2 separate regions of the Homo sapiens genome follow, and region 1 is linked to region 2. Evidence: promoter capture Hi-C in 16 types of primary human blood cells and fetal thymus (Javierre and others, 2016). All regions are on one chromosome and are shown on one strand. The core of a region is centred on a gene start or on the middle of the fragment in contact, and the rest is flanking DNA. Distances in the headings are between cores, read along the strand shown. Region 1 overlaps IPO5 (importin 5). Region 2 holds the start of DNAJC3 (DnaJ heat shock protein family (Hsp40) member C3).

Region 1 (6,401 bases), core at 758-3,257, 2.3 Mb after region 2:
TGACTGAAGCTTGTTTTACAGCCTAACATATGGTCTATCCTGGAGAATGTTCCATATTCACTTGAGGAAAATGTTTACTCTGCTGCTTTTGGGTGGAGTGTCTTACACTTGTCTTGTAGGTGTAGTTGGTTTATCTTATTCTTTGTCTTCCATTTATTATTGATCTATCTAGTTATCCTATCCGTTACTGAAAGGTGGGAACAGAAGTCTCAAACTATTTTTGTTGAATTATCTATTTCTCCCTTAATTCTGTCAGGTTTTGCTTTATGTATTTTGGTGCTGTTAGGCACATGTGTTTAAAACTGTTCTATCTTCCTGATTGAATTTTTTATTATAAAAATGTCCTCTTTATCTCTAATGACATTTTTTGTCTTAAAATCTATTTTGTCTAAAATTAAGAGAGCCATTCCACCTGCTTTTGTTTTTTTGTCTTTTTGAGATGGAGTCTTGCTCCGTCACCCAGGCTGGAGTGCAGTGGCACCATCTCGGCTCATTACAGCCTCTGCCTCCCAGGTTCAAACAGTTCTCGTATCTCAGCCTCCCAGGTAACAGAGTACAGCCGCCTGCCACTACACCCAGCTAACATTTGTATTTTTAGTAGAGACGGGGTTTCACCATGTTTGCCAGGCTGGTCTTGAACTCCCGACCTCAAGTGATCCACCCACCCTGGCCTCCCAAAGTGCTGGGATTACAGGCGCCTGCCACTACGCCTAGCTAAAGTTTGTATTTTTAGTAAAAACGGGTTTTCTCTATGTTGGCCAGGCTGCGTATCTGCTTTTGAATACTGTTTGCATGGTGTGTCTTTTTCTATCCTTTTACTTTCAACCTATTTGTGTTCTAAGAAAAATCATTTAACTTAGAAATGAAATCTTTCTGCTAAGTATATATATATATATATATATATTTTTTTTTTTTTTTTTTTTTTTTGATACGTAGTCTCGCTCTGTCACCCAGGCTGGTGAGCAGTGGCGCGATCTCAGCTCACCGCAAGCTCTGCCTCCCAGGTTCACACCATTCTCCTGCTTCAGCCTCCCGAGTAGCTGGGACTACAGGTGCCCACCACCACGCCCAGCTAATTTTTTTGTATTTTTAGTAGAGACGGGGTTTTACCGTGTTAGCCAGGATGGTCTCCATCTCCTGACCTCGTGATCCGCCTGCCTTGGCCTCCCAAAGTGCTGGGATTATAGGCGTGAGCCACTGCACCCGGCCTCTGCTAAGTATATTTTTATTTCAGGTATTAAAATGCAACAAATGATTTTTAAAAATCCATTTACCACTTTTAAATGAAAACAACATCAAGAAAAGGTATTTTTATTTTCTCCAACTCTTAACCAGTCTTTGATTTAACTGATAAGGATTTATTCTTCAAAATCAGATGTGATTTTTAAGAATATCATCTTCAAAATTAAGTACCATCTAATGGTCCACCATTCTGTTTCTGTCAAATCAGCAGAGGAAAGAAATTCCTAAGGGAACACTGCTCAGAAAGTACTGCAGCATGTCTTCAAATGCCTGAGGATCAAGTTGGAAAACTAGAAGCAACAGAAAACACAATAAGGTAACTGATTTCACCTGGGGAAAAGTCACTTCCTGTTTTGTTTTTTTTAAAAGAGACAAGGTCTCGCCATGTTGCCCAGGCTGGTCTCGAACTCCTGGTCTCAGGCAATCCTCCCACCTCAGCCTCCCAAAGTGCTGGGATTACAGGCGTGAGCCATCACACCCAGCCAAAAGTCACTTCCTAAATGTCAATGTACAAAGTATGTAGGACACCTATGTGTAGCTAGTTGGCTATTTTATTCTCCAGCAAAGCACTGCCCAATCGAAATATAATATGAGCCACAAATACAAATCACATATGCAATTTTAAAATTTCTAGTAGCCATATTTTTAACAAGTAAAAAAAAGTGAAATTAATACATTTAACAATAGTTTATCAATAAATATAACTATTTTATTTAACACAATATATTAACATTTCTACATGTGACCAATATAAAATTGTTATTCTTAATTTCCTACTAAGTCTTTGAAATTTACTGTGTATTTTACACTTAAAATATATCTCAGGCCAGGCTCAGTGGCTCACGCCTGTAATCCCAGCACTTTGGGAGGCCGAGGCGGGTGGATCACGAGGTCAGGAGTTCGAGACAAGCCTGGCCAAGATGGTGAAACCCCGTCTCTACTAAAAATAAAAAAAAATTAGCCGGGCATGGTGGCGGGCGCCTGTAATCCCAGCTACTTGGGGGGCTGAGGCAGGAGAATCGCTTGAACCCGGGAGGCAGAGGTTGCAGTGAGCTGAAATCGTGCCACTGCACTCCAGCCTGGGCGACAGAGTGGGACTCCGTCGCAAAAAAAAAGAAAAAAGCATACCTCAGTTCAAACACGCCATATTTCAATTGGTCAACAGTCATAATGGCTAGTGGCTACCATAATGAGCATTGCAACTGTAGCATTGAAAGCCAGAAATAGCCTTTAATAGCTCTGTGATAATCAAATCAAACTTGATTTTTTTCTTAACCACAATTATGATGCATTCCTGTAACATGACCACTTATATAATGAGAATATAAAAATGCAATAGTCTAACAGGTAGATGTCCAATCAAAATTAAAGTTACAAATTTTAGAGGTTGCAATCTGTATTAGCAATCACAGCCACTATCTATTAAGCATTTACTCTGTGCCCGGCACTACTGCCAGGTATTTTAATCAGTAGTAAAAAATACTTCTATTACACCCATTTCAGAGAAGAAGAAACTGGGCTTGAGACAGGTTACCTTGGGCAAGATCACACAGCATGTAGGCTGTGAAGCTATCATTTGAACTTGCACATTGGCCGGCTCTGGAGCCTCTGCTCCCAGCCTCCCTAAAATGAGTCCCTCCATCTGCAGATATCCACTGAATCTCAAATATAAAACTAAGAAAGGGCGCAAAAGAAAACAATCAAGTCAAAATTTCCCTGCCTGTGTTCCATTCCACAATTTACTGAGGGCCTATTGTGCACAGTGTCCTTCAGGATTGTTAGGGTCCCACTTGCCCCTGGCTGAGGTGCACTGACTGTATGTAACAGACTGCTTCAGAGCAGGAACTTGAAAGTTTTGATAAAAAGCAGTTGAAAAAAATGTGAATATTTCAGCATATTTTCAATAATTTTTCAACCATTCAAACTTTTTTTGCTGGCTCTTATCTAGGCAACAGAAAACATCAGTATTAGAGTCAGAAATCTTACTTATCAGCCAAGTGTCTATTGAATATCTGTAATCCATTCCATACACTATTTCACTCTGCACAATTGGGAGACTAATAGAAAATACGCAAGTAGATTTTATATAAACACAAATGTGATGCACATGACTATGCATCAGCTGCAGCCTTAAGAGTAATTACTTGTTTAAGGCCAGGCGCGGTGGCTCAAGCCTGTAACCCCAGCACTTTGGGAGGCCGAGGTAGGAGGATCGCTTGAGCCCAGGAGTTCAAGACTGTCCTGGGCAATATAGCAAGACCCCATCTCTAAAAAAACAAACAAAAAGAGTAATTACTTGTTTAAGGTCACATTTAACTCCCAAATCCATCTTACTAATAAAAGAGATAATTATTGAGTATCTACTTATGCAGACACCATACTATGTGAATTTACATATATTATCCTAACTTTCAAAACACTCCTATGAAGAACTATCATTCCAATTTTACAGATGAGAAAACAAAGCCAGCATTCTTTTTCATTGTACCAGGTTAATTATTAACAAAAATAATAATGCCATCAGCTTACATTGGTGTAGTTACAGATTATAACACTTTGATTTATACCATCTAAATTGACCCTCATAATAAATTGTGATATCAAGAGCATAGCGCTTACAACTACCAAGATAAGGAGTCATAGAGACCCGAGACAACTTAAAACAAAATTAGATTATTCACTTGGGAGAATCTTATGTTATTTGCATTCAGCACTCTGCAAACCAGAAAGGGCAGACAAAACCAAATTCTATCCCAGCTGAGAAAAGCTTTCACAGAGGTCTTACAAGCCTAACTTCTCCAACCTTCTCCCACTTCCAGAACACTCCCATCAACATGGGAGCCCATAAAACTAAGAGCAGTAGTGGGAGAGATTCTGATGCTCTCTAGTTAAGGAGCCTGGTCTCCTGCAGTATTACAAATAGGTCATGCCCAGGCTGTGCAGTACTTCCTAACAGCAAAAATCCTAAACTACCTAGATTTCAAGTAGCAGTTGAGAGAGACTTTGTTTTCTTTCCCCCAACCTCACCCTTTTCGTAAAGGGTTGCAAATGCTCCAAGCAAATTTGCCTCCAGCACTTAATGGAAGTAGTGCCAAGTCTAATAAACTGCAAGGGAAAGGAGCTGGCCATTCACAAGATAAACCACTAAGTACATTACTTCGGGGCAGTTTTGTTTTTGTTTTTTTATTTTAATGCGGCCAAAGCAATGGCAGCGAATACGGAGTAAGCAAAACTCAAAGTTTTCTATCCTTGCATTTTTACTTCCAATTATAAGTTAATGCTAGAAGAACTTTTATGATTAATAATATACTTTTTATTATCCCCATTTTATAGATGAGAAATTGAGGCTTAGCGACATTAAGCACTCAAGGTTACACAGCTAGTAAGAGACTAAAGATACAAATCCCCTAGACTCAAGTTCAAGGCTCTTTACCTTCCACCATTTGATCTCCTTGGGAAATAAATAAATCTATAATCCTGCAGGCTGTTTTTATGGAATATCTTAGTTATTTTCTTTTATCTTCTTTTTTTTTTTTTTTTTTTTTTGAGAGGGAGTCTCACTCTGTCACCCATGCTGTAGTGCAGTGGCATGATACTGGCTCACTGCAACCTCCGTCTCCTGGGTTCAAGCGATTCTCCTGCCTCAGCCTCCAGAGTAGCTGGGATTACAGGCATGCGCCACCATACCCAGCTGATTTTTTTTTTGTATTTCTAGTAGAGACGGGGTCTCGCCCTGTTGGCCAGGCTGGTCTCAAACTCCTGACCTCAGGGGATCCACCCGCCTCCCAAAGTGCTAGGATTACAGGCGTGAGCCACTGCACCCAGCCCCTGAGTTATTTTCTTATAAGAAAATGATACTCTTATAAACAATAAGGACACTGTCTATGGGAAATGGGCTTCTAAGTGCAGTAAACTTCCCAGAAGGCTGAGCATTATAAACTCTTCAAAATGGCAAGCCTGCTACCGAAAATACAGTCCCCACTTAGGAGGTTTTCTGGACACCAGAACCAGTCTCCATTGTCAGGACATCTGCTATCTACCCCAAGTTTACTGGAATTTCTCCCATTTTGGGTGGCGGGGTGGTCTCTTCATTCATTAACCTTAAAATTCTTCTCCTTCCCTTTTGATTGGATATTTAAAATGTTAAAATAAGGCTGGGCTGTGATTTCGTGTTCTAGCAGTTGATGTCACCACTAATACAAAATTGTTTTGTTTTTAGCCTGCCTGAAATAATCTTAGGTTTACGCTTTGCCTCGTTAAAAAACAAGCTCCTAGCCGGGTGTGGTGGCGGAGGCCTGTAATCCTAGCACTTTGGGAGGCCAAAGTGGGAGGATCGCCCGAACTCAGGAGTTTGAGACCAGCCTGGGTAACAGGAAGACCCCATCTCTACCAAAACTGGAAACATTAGCCAGGTGTGGTGGCTTGTGCCTGCAGACCAGCTAGTTGGAAGGGCTGAGGTGGGAGGATCGCTGGAGCCCAAGAAGTGGCGGCTGCAGTGAGATCACACCACTGCTCTCCACCCTGGGCAACAGAGTGAGACTCTGTCTCAAAATAATAATAATAACAATAATAATAATAGTAACAAATATCTGCAAACTTGATTGGAATTTCTATTATTTAGTAACTATTAAGCAAATATATGTAACCTACAGACTCATTGCCAATAGAAACACATATCGCAACAGGTGTTAAAAAGTAACTGGAGATCGGGCCATGCCCTAAGCAGCCTCTAAGCAATTTATCATATTTCACTGTTAACCTAGTCATTTGAATGAGTTGTTTTTGTCTGAAATTCTTTTTTTTTTTTTTTGAGACGGAGTCTTGCTCTATCACCCAGGCTGGAGTGCAATGGCACGATCTCGGCTCACTGTAACCTCCACCTCCCAGGTTCAAGTGATTCTCCTGCCTCAGCCTCCCGAGTAGCTGGGATTACAGGCGCCCACCACCACCACACCTGGCTAATTTTTGTATTTTTAGTAAAGACGGGCTTTCACCATGTTGGCCAGGCTCGTCTCGAACTCCTGACCTCAGGTGATCCGCCCACCTCGGCCCCCCAAAGTGCTGGGATTACAGGCGTGAGCCACCTTGCCCGGCCTGTAATTCTTAAAACCTTAATAACCTTGGCTGATGATGAAACCTCCTCAGAATCCAGATACCCC
Region 2 (6,386 bases), core at 3,478-5,977:
GAATCTGGAAAATAATAAGTTCTTATATTTGTGTTATTACAAAAATTTTATAAGATCAAACCTATTTAAAGACATGTCATTATGTCACTTAATTTAGAAATTAGAAAGCTTAAATTTTGAAGAGTTTACCCATTGTATATAAAATATAATATTGTACTTAGTTAATTTCTTATAAAATCAGAAGATATATAGCTGCCTTTAAATTAGTATTAACACATTCCAGTGATCAAAGATTCATCTATTTATCGGAAACAGTACATGAATCTTTTAAAATACAATTTTTACACTTTGTAGTCCAGAATTGTAATGTTAAAGACTCTTTAAATCACACTTCAAAACTTTTAGCTCATAATTATAATAACACAACCTATTATTTAAATGCACTCACTCACATTTTAAAAATAAAAAATACAGTGAACAGCATTTTTCTTTTAGATATTTTACTAGATTGTTTGGACTAGAATATAACTAGAATGTGTATGTAGCAATAGACATTTTAAAAACTCAAATAACCTACAATTTTCAAACTGAGAGAAAAAGAAGAACATCAAAAAGAGGAGAAAAGAGCTGGCTTAGGCAACTGTTATCTCTGTAAAGGGCTAATTCTCTTTCTTCTGCAAGGAAAGGAGATAAAATTCGATGCAGAAAAACTCATCTGTACACAAATACACAAAAGAGAGTCACTGCAGTTGATTTAAAAATACTCAGGCCCTTCACAATATTTTAAATAAACTTCTATTGCTGAAACAACTTTCAAGTAAGGGCATAAGGATAATACAGGGAGGTCCCAAATACCCCTTATTTTTCTGTATTGTTAGCATCTTGCATAACCATGGTACATTTGTCAAAACTAAGAAAGTAATAATGGTACACTACTATTAAACTTGAGACTATTCATATTTCAGTAGTTTTTCCACTAATGTCTATTTTCTCTAGGATCCAGTTCAACACAGCACACTGCATTCAGTCATCAATTAAGTTTCCTTAGTTTCCTCTGGTCTGTTACAGTATTTCAATCTTTCCTTGTTCCCCACGACGTTGATAGTTTTGAGGAATACTGATCAGGTGTTTTATAGAATGTCCTTCAATTTTAGTTTGATTTTTTTTTTTTCATGTTTAGACTAGATTGGGTTATAGGTTTTGAGAATACCACAGAGGTGAATTGCCCTTCTCATCACAGTATATTGGGAGTATATGCTATCAACATGACTTGATGATATTAACTTTGACCACCTGGCCAAGACAGTGTTTCCAGGTTTCTGTACTATGAAGTTACTCTCCTCCTCCCTTTCCATACTCTGTTCTTTGGAAGTTAGTCACTAAGTCCAGCCCACACTCAAGGAAGGAGGGAAAATAAGCTCCACCTGATGAAGGGGGACGTATTGTGTTAAGCTGAATAACGGTCCCCCAAATATGTTTACATTCTAATCTCCTGTCATTGTTCTATAGCAAAAGGCAGTTTTTGCAGATGTGATTAAATTGAGGAACTTGAGTAGGAAGAATATCCTGGATTATCTCAGCAGGCCCAATATAATTAATTACAAGGATCCTTGTAAGACGGAGGCAAGGTCAAAAATGACAGAAGGTGATGTGAATACAAAAGCGGAGATTATAGTCATGCGGCCAGAAGCCAAAAAACAACATAAAAGAGGGTGGAAAGCAGAGAAGACAAGATGTGATATAAAAGCCAAATTTTATATGAAGGTACCAAAATTTGATCAGAATCCCAAAATCCTTGAAAATAAACTGTAAATTTGACATATAAGGGTCATTTTTTGTTCCTCAGATTGGCAAAAACTGAAAATCAATTATATCTAGTGATGGTGACTAGGCAGGAATATAAACAGCTGATAGGAATAGAAATTATTCCTTTAGGGAAAGATAATCTGACAACGCATCTTAAAAGTTTAAACAAATTCTTTGATTAAGCAAGTTCAAAAACCTAGTTTTTTTTTTTTTTTTTTTTATAAAGTGTCACTCTGTTGCTCAGTCTGGAGTGCAGTGACATGATCTTAGCTCACTGCAACCTCAAACTCCTGGGTTGAAGCAATCCTCTGCCTCAGTCTCCCTGAGTAGCTAGGGCAACAGGCACGAGCCACCGCACCTGGCTAGTTTTAAATTTTTTTGCAGAGACAGGATCCTGCTATGTTGCTCAGGCTGGTCGCAAACTCCCGGCCTCAAATAATCCTCCCATCTTGGCTTCCCAAAGCGCTAGCATTACAGGTGTGAGCCACTGCGCCCAGCCTAGAAATGTTTCCTAGAAATAAAAGCACAAGTTTGTAAACATAAATGTGGAAGGATGTATATGGTGGCATTAACTTAATGCTGACTTTTTTGTTCTTAATTTGGCACAAAAAGGTGTTTATAAGTGCTCTACTTGTTTCTGAACATTTATTTCTCCTCATAGTTAATTCCTAAACAAATCTTATTCCCTTTACCTACAAAATATGTTCTAGATCTGTTCACTCCTCTCTACCAACATTGTTTTTCCTAGTCAATAAACATAGATCAACCTAATAAAAATTGCATAATACTCTTAATTTTGGATATATCATAAATATGCTACCATTGTTTTTTAAGTCTTTTGCTACTATAATTAACAGTATGAATTACAGTGGAGATTTAATGTTTAACTTCAAAAAGACTCCATAGAGTCTGACGAATGCAAACATATTTACAGTAACTTTTCTTACACTCACTAGATTACTTTGATTTTCGGTTTTATTGGCAAGAGTGATTCGTGAAAACCATGACTAGATGAACATTGGAGGAAACATTCCCAAGCATTAATCACTTAATTTTAGTTTTGTACATTTTTTTCTGTCTAATGTTACCTTTGTTGTAAAATTATCTTTTTTTAAGGAATGCTTTGTAAAGCTTAGTTCTAATATTACAGAATTCATAGTTATGTAATTAATCTCAAAATCACTCACCATTGAAGACCCTTGCTATTTTTATTTCCTATAACACGAAGTCTATTATCTCCTTAATAATTTTTAATTTCCATCCTTAGAACTTCTTCAGCTCTGCTACTTTTTCCTTAAGGCCAGGGTCATAGGCAGCACACTGGTGATAACTCACTGTCTAGAAATATTGCATTTTGTTTACAAAGTTATTTTCTATGTTCAGCATTTTGCTGGCTGCCTTGGGTACAGTACCTCAATTGAATGTCTACACCTGCATATTTGTGGACATTGAAATCATCTACCATTTTTCAGAGACACTACCTTGTGATATAAAAAAACAGAAGCCAAAAAAAAAAAAATCCCAAGGAATTTCTGAAGGAGCCTCTCTTCACTACTCTGCTCTTGTTAGAATAATGAGTAACACTGGTATAACATTCTACAATTTACAAGAATATTTATCTGCTTCATGAAACCTCAAAACAAACCTTTGAGACTATCAGGATCCTAACCACTTTACAGATGAAGATAACTTACATAATAGTTATGGGGTTTCCTGGATCTGACTCCTTTATTCTTCACATTACATTATGTTGCCTTCCCCACAACTAATCAAGGACTCCGTTTTTTCTTTTTTCTTTCTCGAAACCATTTCCTCCATATTAGTTCCCTTTGGAATAGAAGCCTTTTTAAAAGTCCACCTTAGTATATCTTCAGGGAATCACAAATTCACTATGCTATTTATAATTCATGAGTTTCTCTAATGGTATCAAGGCAGCAAATACAGGTGAAGTAATAATTATCCACCTGATAGTACTTAACACACATACCCCGTGTAAAAATACTGCTGGTGTACAGTGTGTGTGTTGGTGACGCCGGAGGAAGTGGCCGTGAACAGGCTTAATGCCGCATTGAGTAACTTCAACCTCATCTTGCTCAGGTTCATATCTCTCCTGAATTTCCCCTGGTAAGCGCAAGATTCAGGATCCGTTCTCACAGTTTTTTGTTTACCAGTTGATGTTGGCTGCATTCAGGAACGCCTTGCTCTCTTAAGCCACAGTGCCTTCCTGGTCTCTTCTTCACAGGGTCTTCCACAATCGCTCTTTTTCCTGGGCACGGTGGTTTGCTGAAAGTCGGGGTGGGGGGCGGGGCGTTCCCAAGTTTCCAGGCCAATTACCTACCTGCCTTAGAGCAATTACGCACTTCTCTCTGGTAGTCCCTGAAATGTTCTAATCATCAGATCGCCCCAGCTTCTCCTGACCGTTTCTTGCTTACGGCTCAGTTCAGACAGTATTTGTTCCGGGACGCTCAGCGGGAGGCGGTTTTTACCGGCTCACTCGAGACCCCAATTCCAGGCGCCCTGCAGCTTCCCTCAGACTCCCCGGGACCGTGTTTGGCCTTCCCATTCGTACGCTGCGGCTGCGCTTTCCTCTCGTAACACCACGCTGGCGAACCTGGAAAGGATCAAATAGTCCCACTCGCCAACCTAGCGCGGCGGGACCGGCCCAAAAGGGCCTTTGCAGCCTGCGCATGCGGACTCGGCGGCCGCCACCGACTCCCCGTCTGCTTCCCTCCGGGCGGCAGCCGCGGTTTGGAGCTTGCTGACAGCTCTGCGACCGGCGGGCGCAGCCTCGTCTCGTGCTTCCACGTTATCCTATCAGGGACGGGGCGGGGCGGCGGCCTCCGCAGCCTATCAGCGCGAACCACGACCCCGGCGAGCCCGGGAGGAAAGCCGCCAGAAAGAAGGCGATTGGATGGCGGCGGCGCTCTGGGGCGTAGCGTCGCCCGGGCCCCGCCCACCGCTGCCTTCCTCTGCTGGGCTCCAGAGCCACTGAGGCCTGAGCGAGAGCCGACGGCGGGCGGGCGCAGCTGCTGCCGGAGCGCCGGCGCGTGCTGGTGGGCCACACACCTTTCCTCCTCTTCACTCGCGAGCCCTCGGACATGGTGGCCCCCGGCTCCGTGACCAGCCGGCTGGGCTCGGTATTCCCCTTCCTGCTAGTCCTGGTGGATCTGCAGTACGAAGGTGAGTCCTGCCCTGCCCCGGCCAGGAAGTGGGCTCCCGGACCAGGCCCCCCGCGCTTTCCCGTCTGCGCCCGGGCGCCTGTCCCGGAGCGGCTCGGGAGGTGGGGCGAGCGCTGGGGGAGCCCGCGGCCTGGCTTGGGCCTGAGCCCGCGCCCGGTTCCGGGTTTGTCTGGGGAAGAATCGAGGGGACTGGCGGGCCGCGGGGCCGGGACAGCGGGTTTGGACTAAGGAACCGGGCCGCAGGAGTCGGAGGAGGCGGGGTGCGGGGGCACCGGGCTACGACTTCAGGAAGTCCTGGGACGCGGAGACTTGGGCAGCCTTTGGGTCCTGGCCTCGCTTGGGACCCTCGCTGGGCGCCTGGGGACACTGTCAGTCATTGGTGCTGGCTGGGAGGAGGCACTAAGGTGGCCAAAAGACTTCCTTCGCTCTGGAGTTCTTGGGTGGGGAAGGAGTGTCATGTCCGGCTGGGAGTTGGAGGGGACAGTGTTGACTATTTAAAAAGTGTGTAACCATCCCCATTAAGATGCACTGTCGTGTAGAGAAATTGTTAGTTTGGTGCAATGAGGAGCCGCTGTTGGAATTCCATCTCCCGGACGGCCAGGCACTGAGTTTGTGGTTTTACAACTCCCAACATGGTGTCATTCAACGTATGGCTGGCATTACTTTTCCAAGTTCGCTGTAAAAAGGTTCCCTTAAAAAGATACGAACGATTAAATTTCACTTCAGTCCTGCAGACTGGAATGTTGGCTACTCCAGAATAGCGAAAATAGAGGGCTGTCCTATCTTAGATGGCAGCGGGGAGGAGTAAGAATTAAAGTTGATAGTGCCGATTTAACGAATGCTTCTGGCGCGGTTACTGTGCGAAATATTCGAGTGTAATGACACATCACATGCACTGATCTATTTTCATCCCCATAAAAAGGGCTAGTTGTCAAGGAGGTCAAATTAAACCTTTGAGTATTCCATTCAAAGGGAGCGAGGAACTAAAAATTGGGAATTGTTTATAGTGAATTCTTCTGAAAGTTCTCAACTTTTTTTTTTAAAGTAGTACTCCCCAGTTTTTAGGTGTCACCCATAGCAATGGGCTTTTGCTTTTGCTTCCCCTGGTAACCATATTTTTTGAACCCCAAATCAGAACACGTAGTGTGGCAACATTGGGACAAAGAATTTGACAGTGAGGCTGCCCCCAGAAAAATCTAGGGGATTGGAATTTGAAGGTCTGTACCACTTTAATATGGGTCATATATTCTAGTTCTTTTGCATTTTCAAAAGCTTCATTCCTCCTGCCCCCGCACCCCACCATCCCTCATCTGTAGTATTTATCTCCAGTTATCATTAATAATTTATTTTGGACACTTAAGAGAAAGTTGCCTATGTTCTGTTTAATGGTGATTTTTTTTTTTAAGTTACAGAGATGCACAATTTTGAATGATTGCTTTTCCCACTACTTTTTAGAATTGC

Evidence for each region. Contacts are between HindIII fragments. The CHiCAGO score rates a contact against its expected background, and 5 or more counts as called.
Region 1: a contact is called between a fragment that was not itself captured here and the fragment with the promoter of DNAJC3 in region 2, in 1 of 17 cell types (total B cells). The highest score is 5.2, in total B cells.

The regions. Positions count from the first base shown.
Region 1 is chr13:97,968,273-97,974,673 of GRCh38, forward strand. IPO5 (importin 5) reads left to right here. Exons shown (of 29, transcript NM_002271.6): 3 at 1,451-1,558. Among named protein-coding and RNA genes, the nearest start is that of IPO5, 18 kb to the left of the region's middle. The HindIII fragment of the contact is 4,000 bases long and covers 8-4,007 here.
Region 2 is chr13:95,672,412-95,678,797 of GRCh38, forward strand. It overlaps DNAJC3 (DnaJ heat shock protein family (Hsp40) member C3), which reads left to right and starts at 4,728. Exons shown (of 12, transcript NM_006260.5): 1 at 4,728-4,926. The coding sequence starts at 4,845. DNAJC3-DT (DNAJC3 divergent transcript) reads right to left here and starts at 4,514. Exons shown (of 2, transcript NR_132117.1): 1 at 3,441-4,514; 2 at 424-2,257. RefSeq lists enhancers at 3,818-4,665, 3,929-4,028, 4,666-5,512, 4,859-4,908 and silencers at 4,549-4,788, 5,019-5,108. The HindIII fragment of the contact is 3,320 bases long and covers 2,876-6,195 here.